Linked DNA regions of Homo sapiens: region 1 is linked to region 2. The links are contacts of gene promoters, found by promoter capture Hi-C in human tissues and cell types (Jung and others, 2019). All regions are on one chromosome and are shown on one strand. Each heading gives the region's core, a stretch centred on a gene start or on the middle of the fragment in contact. The rest is flanking DNA. Distances are from core to core; before and after follow the strand shown.

Region 1 (6,574 bases), core at 1,480-3,979, 150 kb after region 2:
AGGACGAAGGGAGTCGATACTCCAGACTCAGCACTTCCCCGGGATTTCCCCGCGAGGACGAAGGGAGTCGATACTCCAGACTCAGCACTTCCCCGGGATTTCCCCGCGAGGAGGAAGGGAGTCGATACTCCAGACTCAGCACTTCCCCGGGATTTCCCCGCGAGGACGAAGGGAGTCGATACTCCAGACTCAGCACTTCCCCGTGATTTCCCCGCGAGGAGGAAGGGAGTCGATACTCCAGACTCACCACTTCCCCGTGATTTCCCCGCGAGGACGAAGGGAGTCGATACTCCAGACTCACCACTTCCCCGTGATTTCCCCGCGAGGACGAAGGGAGTCGATACTCCAGACTCACCACTTCCCCGTGATTTCCCCGCGAGGAGGAAGGGAGTCGATACTCCAGACTCACCACTTCCCCGTGATTTCCCCGCGAGGACGAAGGGAGTCGATACTCCAGACTCACCACTTCCCCGTGATTTCCCCGCGAGGACGAAGGGAGTCGATACTCCAGACTCAGCACTTCCTGTGATTTCACGGCACGCCATTGCTGCTGGGCTCCAGGCTGTCTGGCTGGGTGCTTCTGGAGGTGTGGGTGCCTCTGAACGGGGCCCTGCTCTCCTCTCTCTGGCTTTGGGGCCACACTGGTCGCTTGAAATCGGCCAGGAATGTTCACACCACAGAAATCAGGATGGGCCACACATCGGAGGAAATTGAGCTCACGTTTGAACAAAGGTTTTGTTGATCATCTAATCTTGCTACCCTGAATTAAATAATCTTGTATATAGCGGTTACACTGCAATAGCACAAAAAAATTAAGACAATGTTTTTCTGGCATTTAAAACTTCACCTGATTCAACAAAGTTGCTTGTGACATTGATGAATGAGTGAAGCGCCAGCATTCCCAGTGTGAAAGCCAGAAGAGATGTCAGCTTAATATAATTTGTATGAGTGGGAGAAATGTTTTAATGGTCGACACATATCACACTCAGTGATGACGCACTTTTTGAGAACCAGCTAGCAGAGGGTGCGTTGCCTCTGTTTGTCAAATCCTGGTTAAATGCAGCCCAGGATTGGCTTAGAGACAAGAGTTTGCTGTGAGAATCAATTAGCTCTGTGAGTTTGAAGTAGAGGACTGTGTATCTCATTATTTTTTGTGAGTTGTGTGCTACACATCTTTTACACTAGTGCAATGTATGACTTAACCTAGTTGAGCTCGTGCATGCATTTTTCCCCTAGAGAACCAGGTTGTTAAACCTCTGTTGGGACCACCCACCTGGGGGTGCAGCCCCAGGCCTGTCCCTTCCCCTCTTGCGTACAGGCTGGGTGTGAACTAAACGTTGCTTGGGTTAAGGAAAGTTGTTTTCCCTGCCCCCCATTCCTTCTCTGGGGCTGCCCCCAGACGGGACGCAGCTGGGAGACGTTCTTCATGGTTTTATCTCAGTGCGGCGCATCAAGGGAGAAAGACCCAGTTCCCTTTGTTCCTCACTCTCCATTCAAGCGCGTGTGTCCACCCGGGGAGCAGCCTCGGAGCCTCGGAGCACAGGGAGGTTTGCCCACTGTCCGTGATCAGGAAGAAAGCATCTCTCTCCGAGGCAGATGTCAGCATTGTTGCCACTGCCCGTTATAAGAGACTAGGGTTCCCCAGGCTCAGGCCCTGCTCCCAAGGTGCAGCCGATATGTGTGCAGGCATCACTGGGTTCCCAATCCCAATTTGGTACTGCGTGAGGCAAACCAGGGCACCTGCAGACGCTGCAGCTCTGGCTCTGCTGTTGCGGTGATGTCCTTTGTCTCAGACGTGGACGTCTCTGGCCTCCTGCCTGCCCCTGTGAGACCCGCAGCTCCCCGGTGAGTGGGGCGAGGAGGTAGGGGCATCTTCACACCTTCTCAGTTCTCAGCAGTAAGTAATGCCTCTCAGTCCTGGCTGCACCCAGAACCACCTGCAGGCTTTCTAATCAAGACGAATGTCTGTTCTTACTGCCTGGAGCCCGTCCTAGTCAAAGAATGGCAATCTCTGGGTGGGGTCCAGGCATTTGTCCTGTGAGAAGCTCTCCTGTGTGTGCAGCTGCAGCCGGTGAGTGCAGGTGTGAGGTCCTGTGTGTGGACTCAGGAGAGGAGTCACAGCCCCAGGAGATGCAGCCTGGATGCGGGGCAGGCTCTGCTGCGCTAGGAACACGGGGGCCCTGGGGGTTCCTGTGCAGCACCGGTGTGTCTCTGCTCCTTTGTGAACTCAGAAGGGCGGCTTCATTTCAGCCCACCTTTGCCTTCTCTTTCCTCGTTATTCCCTGGGTGTTTTCAGCCGCCAGTGAAACTTCGGTTTTGAACCCATAGGATTTGCCTCAGTCTCCTGGTGGACACGTCTCTGTGGAGGAGAGGTCCCCTGTCTGCAATCGCCTTCTTTCCCATATTTTATTACCTGTTTATAAGAGTGAGCACAGTTAGAACCAGCTGACAGGGTTTGGAGTCGTGTTTCTCAGGATATTCCAGAGGCATTCCTGCTCCATTCATCTCAGGACTTGAAGTATTTTCCCCAGCGGCTCATTGTAGACCAGCTGGATTCACAGGCAGTCAGAACCACGAGAGTGCATGTGCTGGTGGCCGTGGTCTGCGGACAGCATTTCCAGAGTGCTGGGTGATGCGGCCCCCGCGCCTTGAGAGTTATACTGCATCGGGAGACTGGGCAGCCCTGGGGAGGCCCGGCCTGGACAACCTTCTGGCTGACCTGGCTCCAAGGCCAGGTCTCCTCCTAGACGTTTAGGGATCACTTGGGTCTCGGGACGCGTGAGTCTCTGGAGTGACGTGGCAGCATCTCCTGTGTGGCCCGTTGCTAACAGCCTTTGCACCAAGCACGAGAGGAGGGTCATTTGCACCAGGAGCGTGTAACTGGGGTACTGTTGCGTTTTGGGTGGACGGCCCTCTGCCACGCAGCACTATTGGTGTTCTAGGTGGACGGCCCTCTGCCGTGGGACACTCTTGGTGTTCTAGGTGGACGGCCCTCTGCCGTGGGGCACTCTTGGTGTTCTAGGTGGACGGCCCTCTGCCGAGGGGCACTCTTGGTGTTCTAGGTGGACGGCCCTCTGCCGAGGGGCACTATTGGTGTTCTAGGTGGACGGCCCTCTGCCGAGGGGCACTATTGGTGTTTTGGGTGGACGGCCCTCTGCCACACGGCACTATTGGTGTTCTAGGTGGACGGCCCTGTGCCCTGGGGCACCGTGTGCAGCAGGACACTGAACAGAAGACACCCTGCACTCTGCCCACCAGATGCCATTTGCACAGCCCATAGTGAAATCCAAGCGTGCCCTGGGAGGTGGCCCCTGGGGGAGACCCCTGTTTCAGTGGCCCCTGGGGGAGACCCCTGTTTCAGCCGTTGTCGGGGTCAGGCCTCCAGTAAGCACAGTGGGCGCCTTCTAGGACCCCTCCTGCCACCCCGTCACCATAGACTCATTCTCCCTGTGGTGGAAGTTTCAATTACATTGAATATGCCCGTTATTTGGGAGGGTTTAACATCTGGGCCTGGTCACCCGCCCCTCAGCAGAACCTCCCGTGCCCTCTGAAGAGCCGTGGAGACTGGAGGGAGCTGGAGGTGCTCTCAAGGAGACTGGACGACAGGCAGACCCCCTGGACGGCAGTGCTGGGCCCTCCCTGGGCAGGTGGTGTCACCCAGTGAGTTTTGGAATCAGCCCGCACAGCCCTCTCCTCCTTCCACCGCCCACAGAAGCCCGCTGGTGCCAGGGGCTCCCAGCAGCCCCTCCCGGCCAGGAGGATTGGGGGGTGCCTTGCTTGAGGATGGCAGCCTGGGCTTCTGTCATTCATAACCCACAGGAGTCCTCTTGAGGGAGGAGCATGGTGCCCTGGAGAGCCCTGGACAAGACCTGGGCCTGGCTCCATCCAAGCCCAGCGGCCTCTGCCCCTCCTGAGCGTGAGGATAGAGCAGGTGCCGTCTGCCCTCGACTCGGCCCAGAGGAAACCCCACTCCCACGGCCTCGCCGAGTTCTGCCTATTTCTGGCAGCTTCGCAGGCCCTTCGGGAAGGCACTTGTGTTGCCAGGGGTCGTGGGGGTCAGGGTCATGCTGTGTCCTCAAGACGCTGTGTCCCCTGCCTCGGGGCCCCCCCGCCTCTTCCTCTTATGGCCTCTGCACCGCAGTCAGCCCACCGAGATGTGCAGCCTCGTCCCACGGAGGGTGCCGGGTGGGGAGGCCAGTGCGGACGGGCACTCAGGCCCACTCAGAGGCCAGTCACGGAGCCCCCGTGTCCAGAGGCGAACAGGAGCCAGGGGGCACATGGGCCTTGCAGTCAGCAGCTCAGAGCCCGGAGAGGGGTCTCTACCCACGCATGGCACAGAGGCTTCTGTGCCTCACTGAGACCCTGCCAGGGCCTGGAGGAGGACCTGTTCGAGTGAGGATCCCAGGGGCCAGGGCTGGGATCGCTGTTCCAGGCTTCTAAATAGCCCAAAGTAGACGGGGCTCTTCATCCTTTATTCAGATATTTTAGTCACAAGACTATTGTTCCGGTAAATACTTTATGTTGTTAGAAGACGCTGTGTGCCTAGCAAAATTTTTAGGCCCCTTTGAATGTTTTGCGTTGGGACGACTAAAAGGCTGAGGTTGGGAGCCTTGAGAGCCGCACTTCCTCCAATTCTCCCGCAGGGTCTCCTTCCCCAACAGGCCCTGGGCTTTATTGCTGGGACGGGGTTGCTTTCGCTGGACCATGCACCGGGGCTGTCGCCATCACCTGTTCCACGTTATTTCAGTGAGGCCGACCTGTAGTTGAGTAAAACGCCGTGATGACGTGGGAAAGAGAAGAGCGCCCAGCCTGGGTGGACGCGGCCAGTACCAGCACAGCCCTGGCCTCTCCAGGACGTCTTCTGTCTGGGTTGGTGCCAGGAGCTTTGCTCAGTGGAGCCCTGGGCCCTCGTCCTCACCCGTGGCTGCCTTCATTCCTTCCTCCGCCCTCTTCACTGGGCGCTGAGCTGAGCTGCTGAGCGCCTGGGAGACGCCCGCTGCTGTGTTGAGCAGTACATGAGGCCAGCCCCGCCTGAGGGCCCTCCCCAGGATGCCTGCAGGGAGGAGCAGTGCTGGGTGGGGTCTGTGGAGACCTCCCCATGCCCTCACAGCTCCTCCTGGGTACAGGGGTGTGGCTCCGGGTGCTGCGGGCAGCCCCGACAGCTCGCTGTCAGCACTTGGAGACCCTGTGTGGGCCTCCAGGGAAGCCTGGGCATCCTAACCCTCGGTCAGGGCTGGGCCTGTGCTCACCCTGAGGGTGCAGCTTCCCTCCATGGCCCAGAAGGGCTGCCGTGGGCGTGGGAGTCATGACGCTTTGGATCAGGGCCTTTGTTTTTGTTACTCACTGCCTGATCCCTGGAGTTGGAAATCAGGTTTTGCGGTGTTATGCTGTTTACATTAAATGTGTTTAAGTGCTGCCTTTTACTCCTGTTAGTTGAGTTTTCAGAGCCGATGCGAGGTGCTGTGTTGGCTGTCTTCATCAGTCTGCCGGCTGGTGAACACACCGCATATGTTTTAGAGGCATGGTCTGTGGGAAAAGTGGTCATGAGAACTGTTACTTATTTGGCTGTTAGGATGAAACCAGTTTACTTTTCTTTTAATTCATTTATTCATCCATGCATGCAACAGATAATTAGGTACTTACTGTATACCACAGACAGCTTTGTCTTTTTATATGAACGTCTCTGTGCACCAGAAAAAAAAGAGAAAACGTGTTTCCTCTAAGAGAGACAGAACAGGCACCTTTGGTGAAGGTAACTGAATGAACTGTTTGGGGTGCGGTGGAGAAGAAACAGTTGCTTGGGAGCTGGGGCAGCCCCCGTCCCGCTCAGCTGTGGGGCTGCAGGGAGAGGCTCGGTCCTGGTGCATGTGGCACACACGGCGAGGCCCCGGGGCGACGTGGCCAGGCCGTGCTGCAGCAGCCCCAGCCCTCCTGGTCTGAGCAGCTCATTGGATGTTGGTGCGTCCAGCAGGCTCCCTGGTGTTGCTGTCGTCATAGCAACCAGGATGTTTCTCAGGAGTTTTTTTTTTTTTTTTCTGTTTCAATGCTTTATTAACAGTTGGAAACAAAACCAGTGCCTTGGAGGTGATGGCATCAGAAGCCTGAGGCAGGGAAATGGGCTTGCATTTTGTCCCCCCACTTTTTTTTTTATTAAATGCATCATAGCAAAAGTAGATTAAAAAGAAAGAGTCTCAGCCCCAGATGACAGTGAGCAAGGAGAAGGAGGTAAAGACGGGGCCATCGGGCGGGGAGGGAGGAACCTGGTGTGTTTTGGGGCCAGGGGACTGGGCATCATCGGGCAGGGAGGGAGGAACCCGGTGCCTTGGTGCCAGTGCGGGGGAACTGGGCATCGTTGGGCAGGGAGGGAGGGAGGGATGAATCCGGTGCGTTGGTGCCAGTGTGGGGGGACTGGGCATTGTCGGGCAGGGAGGAAGGATGAATCCGGTGCATTGGTGCCAGTGCGGTGGGACTGGGCATCGTCGGGCAGGGAGGGAGGGATGAATCCGGTGCGTTGGTGCCAGTGTGGGGGGACTGGGCATCATTGAGTGGGGAGGGAGGAAGGGATGAATCCGGT
Region 2 (7,053 bases), core at 3,161-5,660:
ACACGAAACACATGATCCGAATTTTTAAAGGATAACATATACTATGCCCATTATTTAAATGTGAAATGTCTAAAGTAGAATTTTCTTCATGCATGTCAGCATGTGGTAAACGAAGAATCAGTATTTTATAGCAAACATGACTAAGGAAAGGAACACTTCCTCATGAAATACTTTACTAACCTGCTAAGCTCCATCACTAAAATTCTCACACATATTTAAGAGATGCATAACACTCATTTTATTCAACCAAATAAAAATGAAATTATGAGCATACTTACATGGCACCTAGCTGCAAGGTAACGACATGCTTCATACAACTAGGAAAGAAATTAATTTGTTTAAGTAGTGGTCAAAATAATATGTATCTTCACTTTCAAAGAAAGCCATAAGCATAAAATAGAACTAATTTCATAATTTCTCCTTTTACTCTTGCAGTTAAAAAAAAAATCCAGTCCTGTTAAACCATATTTATTATGAACCTACTGTTTACTAGGCACCAAGGATTCAAAAGCAGTAAGGCCCTGCCCCAGGAGGTTACAGTAGGGGAGATGTGAACTAAGCACAACAGGTAAGCATGACGAAACGGGGCAACAGAAAGCATCAACCAGGTGGAGAAGTAAACATCTGCAGGAGAGCGAGTAAGTGAGGCAGCGAGTAAGTGGTCAGGCAGAGGAGTGGAGCACTGGGTAGCTCTTCAAGCACTGAGTGTGAATAACTGCTGGGGGTCCAAGGAGATCGCAGCAGCTCCACTTCAGGCACTGAGTGTGAATAACTGCTGGGCGTCCGAGGAGATCGCAGCAGCTCCACTTCAGGCCCTGAGTGTGAATAACTGCTGGGCGTCCGAGGAGCTCGCAGCAGCTCCACTTCAGGCCCTGAGTGTGAATAACTGCTGGGCGTCCGAGGAGCTCGCAGCAGCTCCACTTCAGGCACTGAGTGTGAATAACTGCTGGGCATCCGAGGAGATCGCAGCAGCTCCACTTCAGGCCCTGAGTGTGAATAACTGCTGGGCGTCCGAGGAGCTCACAGCAGCTCCACTTCAGGCACTGAGTGTGAATAACTGCTGGGCGTCCGAGGAGATCGCAGCAGCTCCACTTCAGGCCCTCAGTGTGAATAACTGCTGGGCGTCCGAGGAGCTCACAGCAGCTCCACTTCAGGCACTGAGTGTGAATAACTGCTGGGCGTCCAAGGAGATCGCAGCAGCTCCACTTCAGGCCCTGAGTGTGAATAACTGCTGGGTGTCCAAGGAGCTCACAGCAGCACCACGTGACTGGAGCACGTGCTCCAGGTATTGATGGTGGTGGATTAGACGCAGAGTGGAGAGAAAACAAGGAGGGCCTCACAGACCTACTGATGCATCTGACTTTATCCTGCAGCTAATGGGAAGTCACTGAATGACTTTGTGGGAATATAACCACATCCGTGTTTTAAAGACTACTCACTCCTGTAATAGTTCACAAGATGAACTTGTGACAGGGAAGATAAGAAGAGAGAAACTGTTACTGGGGAAAAGAGACAAGAAGAGAGGCTGTAACAGAACAGACAAAAAAATCAAAGGCCTGACACGTACGAGTGGGGAGGAAGAGGAATATCCATGATTCCAGAGCTGTTTAGAAAACAGTCTTCAGAATTTAGAGACTAGATGGGAGATGGGGGAAAAAGAAGGTGACAGATTAGGTATAAGACATTTTCCCTTCACTTTCACTAAAAAAAAACTGGGCCTACTGTGATGACTCACATCTATAATCCCAGCACTTTGGGAGACCAAGGCGGGAGGACTGCTTGAGACCAGGAGTTCAAGACTAGCCTGGGCAACATAGTGAGGCTCTGTCTCTACCAAAAAAATTTAAAAATTAGCTGGGTGTGGTGGCATGCACCTGTAGTCCCAGCTATTAGGGAGGCTGAGGCAGAAGGATCACTTGAACTCAGGAGTCTGAGGTTATAGTGAGCCACGATCATCCCACTGCACTCCTGGGTGACACAGAGAGACCTCAAAAAAACAAAAACAAAGAAAAATTGCATCAAGTTAAATAATTTCAACAGAAATGGAATATACACCTAAAACCCTAATGACTTTTTTTTTTTTTGAGACAGAGTCTTGCTCTGTTGTCCAGGCTGGAGTGCAATGCACGAACTCAGCTCACTGCAACCTCCACCTCCCAGGTTCAAGTAATTCTCTGCCTCAGCCTCCCGAGTAGCTGGGATTACAGGCGCCTGCCACCACGTCCGGCTAATTTTTGTATTTTTAGCGGAGATGGGGTTTCACCATCTTGGTCTTGAGCTCCTGACCTCATGATCCACCTGCCTTGGCTTTCCAAAGCGCTGGGATTACAGGTGTAAGCCACCGCGCCCGGCCACTAATGACATTTTTTTTAAAGCTCTGAAGAGCTTTAAAGTTCATACCATCACTTACTTTGTCCAGTTTTCGTGACCGAAGTGCATGGGCGGCTCTGTGATATTGTGCTGTCAGGTAAAGACACTGAGCCAACCAATAGATGTCCTGGGGTTCTTCTGGAGGGAAAAATTCACATAAGTGGTCAGAGGTACAAGGTGAAATAGAAAACGAATTTTAAGATTAATCAGAAAACCAGTTAGCATTTTGTCACTTACCACGAGAGAGTGAAGCTACTTTATCTGCCCAAAATAGAGCACTTTGATACTGTTGCTGCATACCAAAAAAAAAAAAAGGTGGTAACTGCCCTGTTATTTTAATAGTCTTAAACAGTTATCTAATATTATTATAATTCTATGTAATATATTAATATAATTCTATGTAATAAATCTTCATCTCAAGACAACAATTTGTTACATCTCTATCTTACATCTCACGTAGGGTAAATTTTAGTTCAGTGTCGCAATACAAACATTCCTGTAATATCTTTGTATATGCAACTTATGAAGGTAATTTTTTAAAACTCATACACTGTAAAAATGTATCGTGAAACATACAAGTGAAATGCAAGTGAAACAGCAAAAGCTAGTCATTAACAATTCATGTGTGATTTATATAACACTTTCAACGAGCTGTTAATGAATCCCAAAGTGAAATTTAGAAGACAGAACACTATACTCAAATACCTTATATAACACAGTGGCAGTTTTAATAACACTCAAGTTTAAAAACACACACACATAAATTAACTAAGCTTCACTGAACATGGGGAAGAACTCACCTCCTCCAAGTCTAACAAAAATGAAGGAGCCGACAATGAGGGCCACCCACAGTGACCTACGGCTAGCTTTAGACCCTGTTCTGCTCCTCAGTCCTCAGTCTTCTACAGTCTCTGCCTCAGTTCCCCTGGAGACAAGCCAGGACCACTGCTGCTAGCCCGAGGCAGGAGGAATGCCAACGGGATAGTTATAAATATGCTCAATACCGGTGTCTCTGGCTGGAAACCGGGCCTGTCATATTCCTCACTACGTCTCCGTACCGAAGAAAAAGTGATCAGAAAACACTGAATTCAACTGACTCATGGTAAATAAAAACACAGCCCTCCAAATGGACTGCAAACATTTGGCCACGTCAGTTAGCACCCAATTCCGAAAACTCTGCATTACCATGGCTTTTCTTTCCCTTTCTTTCCAATTTCCTGAAAGAGCAAGCATTTCAACAAAAAATAAACAACAATATAGATAAAACTGATGCTGCTGATTCTCGAAGACACTTCTTGCCTTAAACGCTCTCTGCTATTCAAAGGTAGTGCAGAGAACACAGACATAGTTAACGAGAATTTTTAAAGTATTGATTTGAGACAACAGGCTTCTTCACATCTTTATTCACTTAAATTCAGCCCAGTAAAAATTACAACTAAACCTCTCAAAAATGTTTTATTAGCTAGCCCTGCAACTTTCCTCCAAAAATTGTCCTTCAACTTGCACTGAGTAGTCAGTGTTTCCTGGGCACCTCCTCCGCGCCAGGTGCAGAACGAGGCTCAGACCCGACTGAGGCGCCCCGTGCGCTCGGGGGCCTCCACTCCCCGGGCTGTGCCCCTCCCAGCTGCAGGGACCGCTCCCTTCTGGGCGAGGCGGAGACAGCGCTGCTGGCCCCAGATGAAGGCCCAGGGCCGGCCCAGTCCTTCCCCACCAAGAGCCCCGACAACAGTCACCCCAGCCCCACGCCGCGCGGAAAAAGACCCGGCGAGGCCTGGGCCCCGCACCCCGAGTCGGGGCCGCCCACCTGGTCGAGGTACTGCCGGACGCGCTTCCGCAGCCGCTCTAGGTTCATGGCGGCGCGGGCCCGGCCTCACGCCACACTCCGCCGCTAGGCGCGCGCCTCCTGCACCCTAAGCACCCCGCCCCGTGCCCGTGCCCGTGCCTGCAGCCGCCGCCGCCGCCCCAGGACTCGAAGGCCGCGGACTCGAAGGCCGCAGGTCCCCACCCACACCCGCACCCCCCACCCAGGCCCCGTGCACTGCCCAGGCTCTTCCGCTCCAGGCAGGCCCCGCCCCGGAAGTCCACAGCAAACGAATCCCATCTGGCGCGGGAAAACGGACCCGAGTTGTTGGTTCCGATGCCTCTCCTGGCACGTGGGCTTCTGGTTGCCTTGGGGCGAGAGCGCGGCCTCCCTGGAATCGCTGCGGCGCCTCTGGGCATTGGCGAGAGAGTCAGGAGGGCTCGGGGCCGGACCACCCACCCGGGCAAAAAAGCAGGTGGCTGCTGAGCCTTCTTTCCCCAGAATGTAGTCAACATTTTAAAAATAAGAGCAACGCACTCTCATTACAAAAAAAAAAAATTGTGTGCACAAACAGCAAATGAAGTCAAAGACAACCTAGGGAAAAATTTGAAACCTATCACAAAATTCGAATTTCCTTATAATGTAGAGCCAATATTCCCTTTACATATATGTAATAAGTCAGTGGGAAGAGACCAATGGCTCAGGAGAAAGACAGGCAAAAAACAGTTCACAGGGAAAGAAATGCAAATAGACTTTAACATACGAAAGAAAGTCCAACTTAATTCATAATAAAAATTAAAATTAGAGTACCACTTTTCATATGTTAACAAAGATCACAAAGGTTGATGACACTGCTAGCAGGAATGTCGGGAAGCAGGCACCCTCAAGTTTTGTGAGTGGTATTGGTATACTCTCTAGGATGAACGAATTGGAATATCTTCCAAATTTAAAGGTGTTCGTGCTGTTAAACCTAATGATTTTTATTTTGGGAAATATACCATGGATTTGCATTTTTGCATGTGTGCAAAATGACCTGTGGTTTCGTTTGTAATAGCAAAAGATTGCAGACAATTTAAACACCCATGAAGTATGGAACTGAGTAAATAGGTCATGATACGCTCACGTAATGGAATACTCGCTGGCTGTTCAAAAGAACAGTCAGCTTTGCATGGACATTGAACGATCTTCAAGATATAGTATGTGGGAAAAAGCAAGTATAGGATCGTGTTTATCGTATGCCTGCATTTGAGTAAAATACGAATTTAATGATAGGTAGAAAAATCCCTAAACTGTCCCAGGAAGGAAAAATGAGAAAACCGGCATAGCGCAAGGCCTCTGGAAGGAGTGCTGGAAGATGAGAGATGGTAGAAGTGGGAGAGGTACTTCCTTGGATATCTTTTTGTGCTTTTGAATTTCAGTCAATGTGCATATATTACCTTTTGTGAAATTAAATCATTCAAACTTAAAATAATTTAAACTTGAAGCTGTTGGAACTTTGAATTACCTGAGCCTTGAGGGGAATGTGGCTACGCGGCCTAGGTCATGCCACACCCAGCTGTAACTTCTGCCTTTTTCCCTGTAAACAATAAAGACCAAATGGCACCGGAGATAAGACCCCCTCAGATCACTACCCCTCCTCATGGAGTTATAACGCAATCTTCCTTCAAATACAGAGATCCCTAACCAATGGAACCGCTGCGGCGTGTGCCCCTGGTCTCATATGAGAACTGTGGTGATCCTGCTGGAGCTTCTGTCTCCGCCTGGTAAGAGAGACCTGAGCTCCACTTGGAAAGGCTGACCCCATTTGTCCAGGTGGCCATTCTCAGGCTCTGTGCTCAAATACACACTATATGTAATCATATTTCTGAATCTCAATATTAAGGTTGACACTTTTAAAAAGTAAATATAACTTTTATAAATATAAAAACCTAAAAGAGTAAAAAAAATTCAAAGAAGCAAAAAAAAAAAAACTTGCTGTAAAGAATCCCACCCACTCAAAAATTCTCTCACGCTACTGTAAGTAATCTGCCGTGTAATTTTCTATGTGTGTGTATACATATATGACTGGGTAATATTTTGAAGTTGTGTTTAAAAATTTGTCCCCCTGTATATTTCCTTTTCCTCCTCCTTTCCCACTTCTGCAAGCAGGCAGTAATCAACTCTGCTCATTAACTTGGGGCAGGCATGTGGTGAGGTGTGTTTTAAGCCATATTTTCAACGACTTCTATCCATTTAATGAGATTCCTAGTTAACCAAAAATGAGTGACTGAGGCAAATGTCTCCATCAGTAGAAGTCTGATGATGGGCCCGGGAAAAACGCAAGCCACAGAAGCATCAACTGTGCCATCCAAATAGGGTTATGGGGACTGGGTGTTTAGGAGGAGACGGCAAGCAGGAGGAAAAAAAGGGAGGGGTCCACAGTGATGCTCTGATTAGTGCTCAGTAAACCAACAATTTACATAAGATGAGGCAAACATCTGACAAGAGGGAGTAGAGGAAAGAGTTATGTAGCCCATATCAGGGTAGGCAGAAGAGTGACTAATCTCATCTTGTCCTTGTTTTGTACCTGGAAGGTAAATTTGTAATTAATATTGCCAGGGCGAGATTTAACAGAAATCACTTTCAGGAGTCCTCTGCCAGATACCCTAACTCATCACTCTCAAGTTCAAAGTTCCAGAGATCCCTAGAGCAGGGGCACAATGCTGCCAGGTTCTTTGCTAATGCACAGCAAAAGTGACCTTTGCTTCAGTTCCTAGTAAGTTTCTCATCTCTATCTGAGACCTTATCAGCCTGCCCATCTCTCCATATCACTATCAGCATTTGGGTCACAACAATTTAAAAGTCTCTAGGAAGTTCCAAATTTTCCCCCATCTTCTTGTCTT

The links. Contacts are between HindIII fragments. The study calls those that stand out against the background at their distance.
Region 1: a fragment that was not itself captured here is called in contact with the fragment with the promoter of CDC16 in region 2 in 1 of the 25 tissues and cell types used here (lymphoblastoid cells).

What each region holds. Positions count from the first base shown.
Region 1 is chr13:114,077,454-114,084,027 of GRCh38, reverse strand. All of the region lies in intron 1 of RASA3 (RAS p21 protein activator 3), which reads left to right. Among named protein-coding and RNA genes, the nearest start is that of RASA3-IT1, 29 kb to the left of the region's middle. RefSeq lists an enhancer at 1-837. The HindIII fragment of the contact is 8,329 bases long and covers 1-6,574 here.
Region 2 is chr13:114,232,254-114,239,306 of GRCh38, reverse strand. CDC16 (cell division cycle 16) reads right to left here and starts at 4,410. Exons shown (of 18, transcript NM_001078645.3): 1 at 4,175-4,410; 2 at 2,608-2,662; 3 at 2,411-2,508; 4 at 279-317. The coding sequence starts at 4,222. RefSeq lists a silencer at 4,092-4,451 and an enhancer at 4,562-4,611. The HindIII fragment of the contact is 10,274 bases long and covers 406-7,053 here.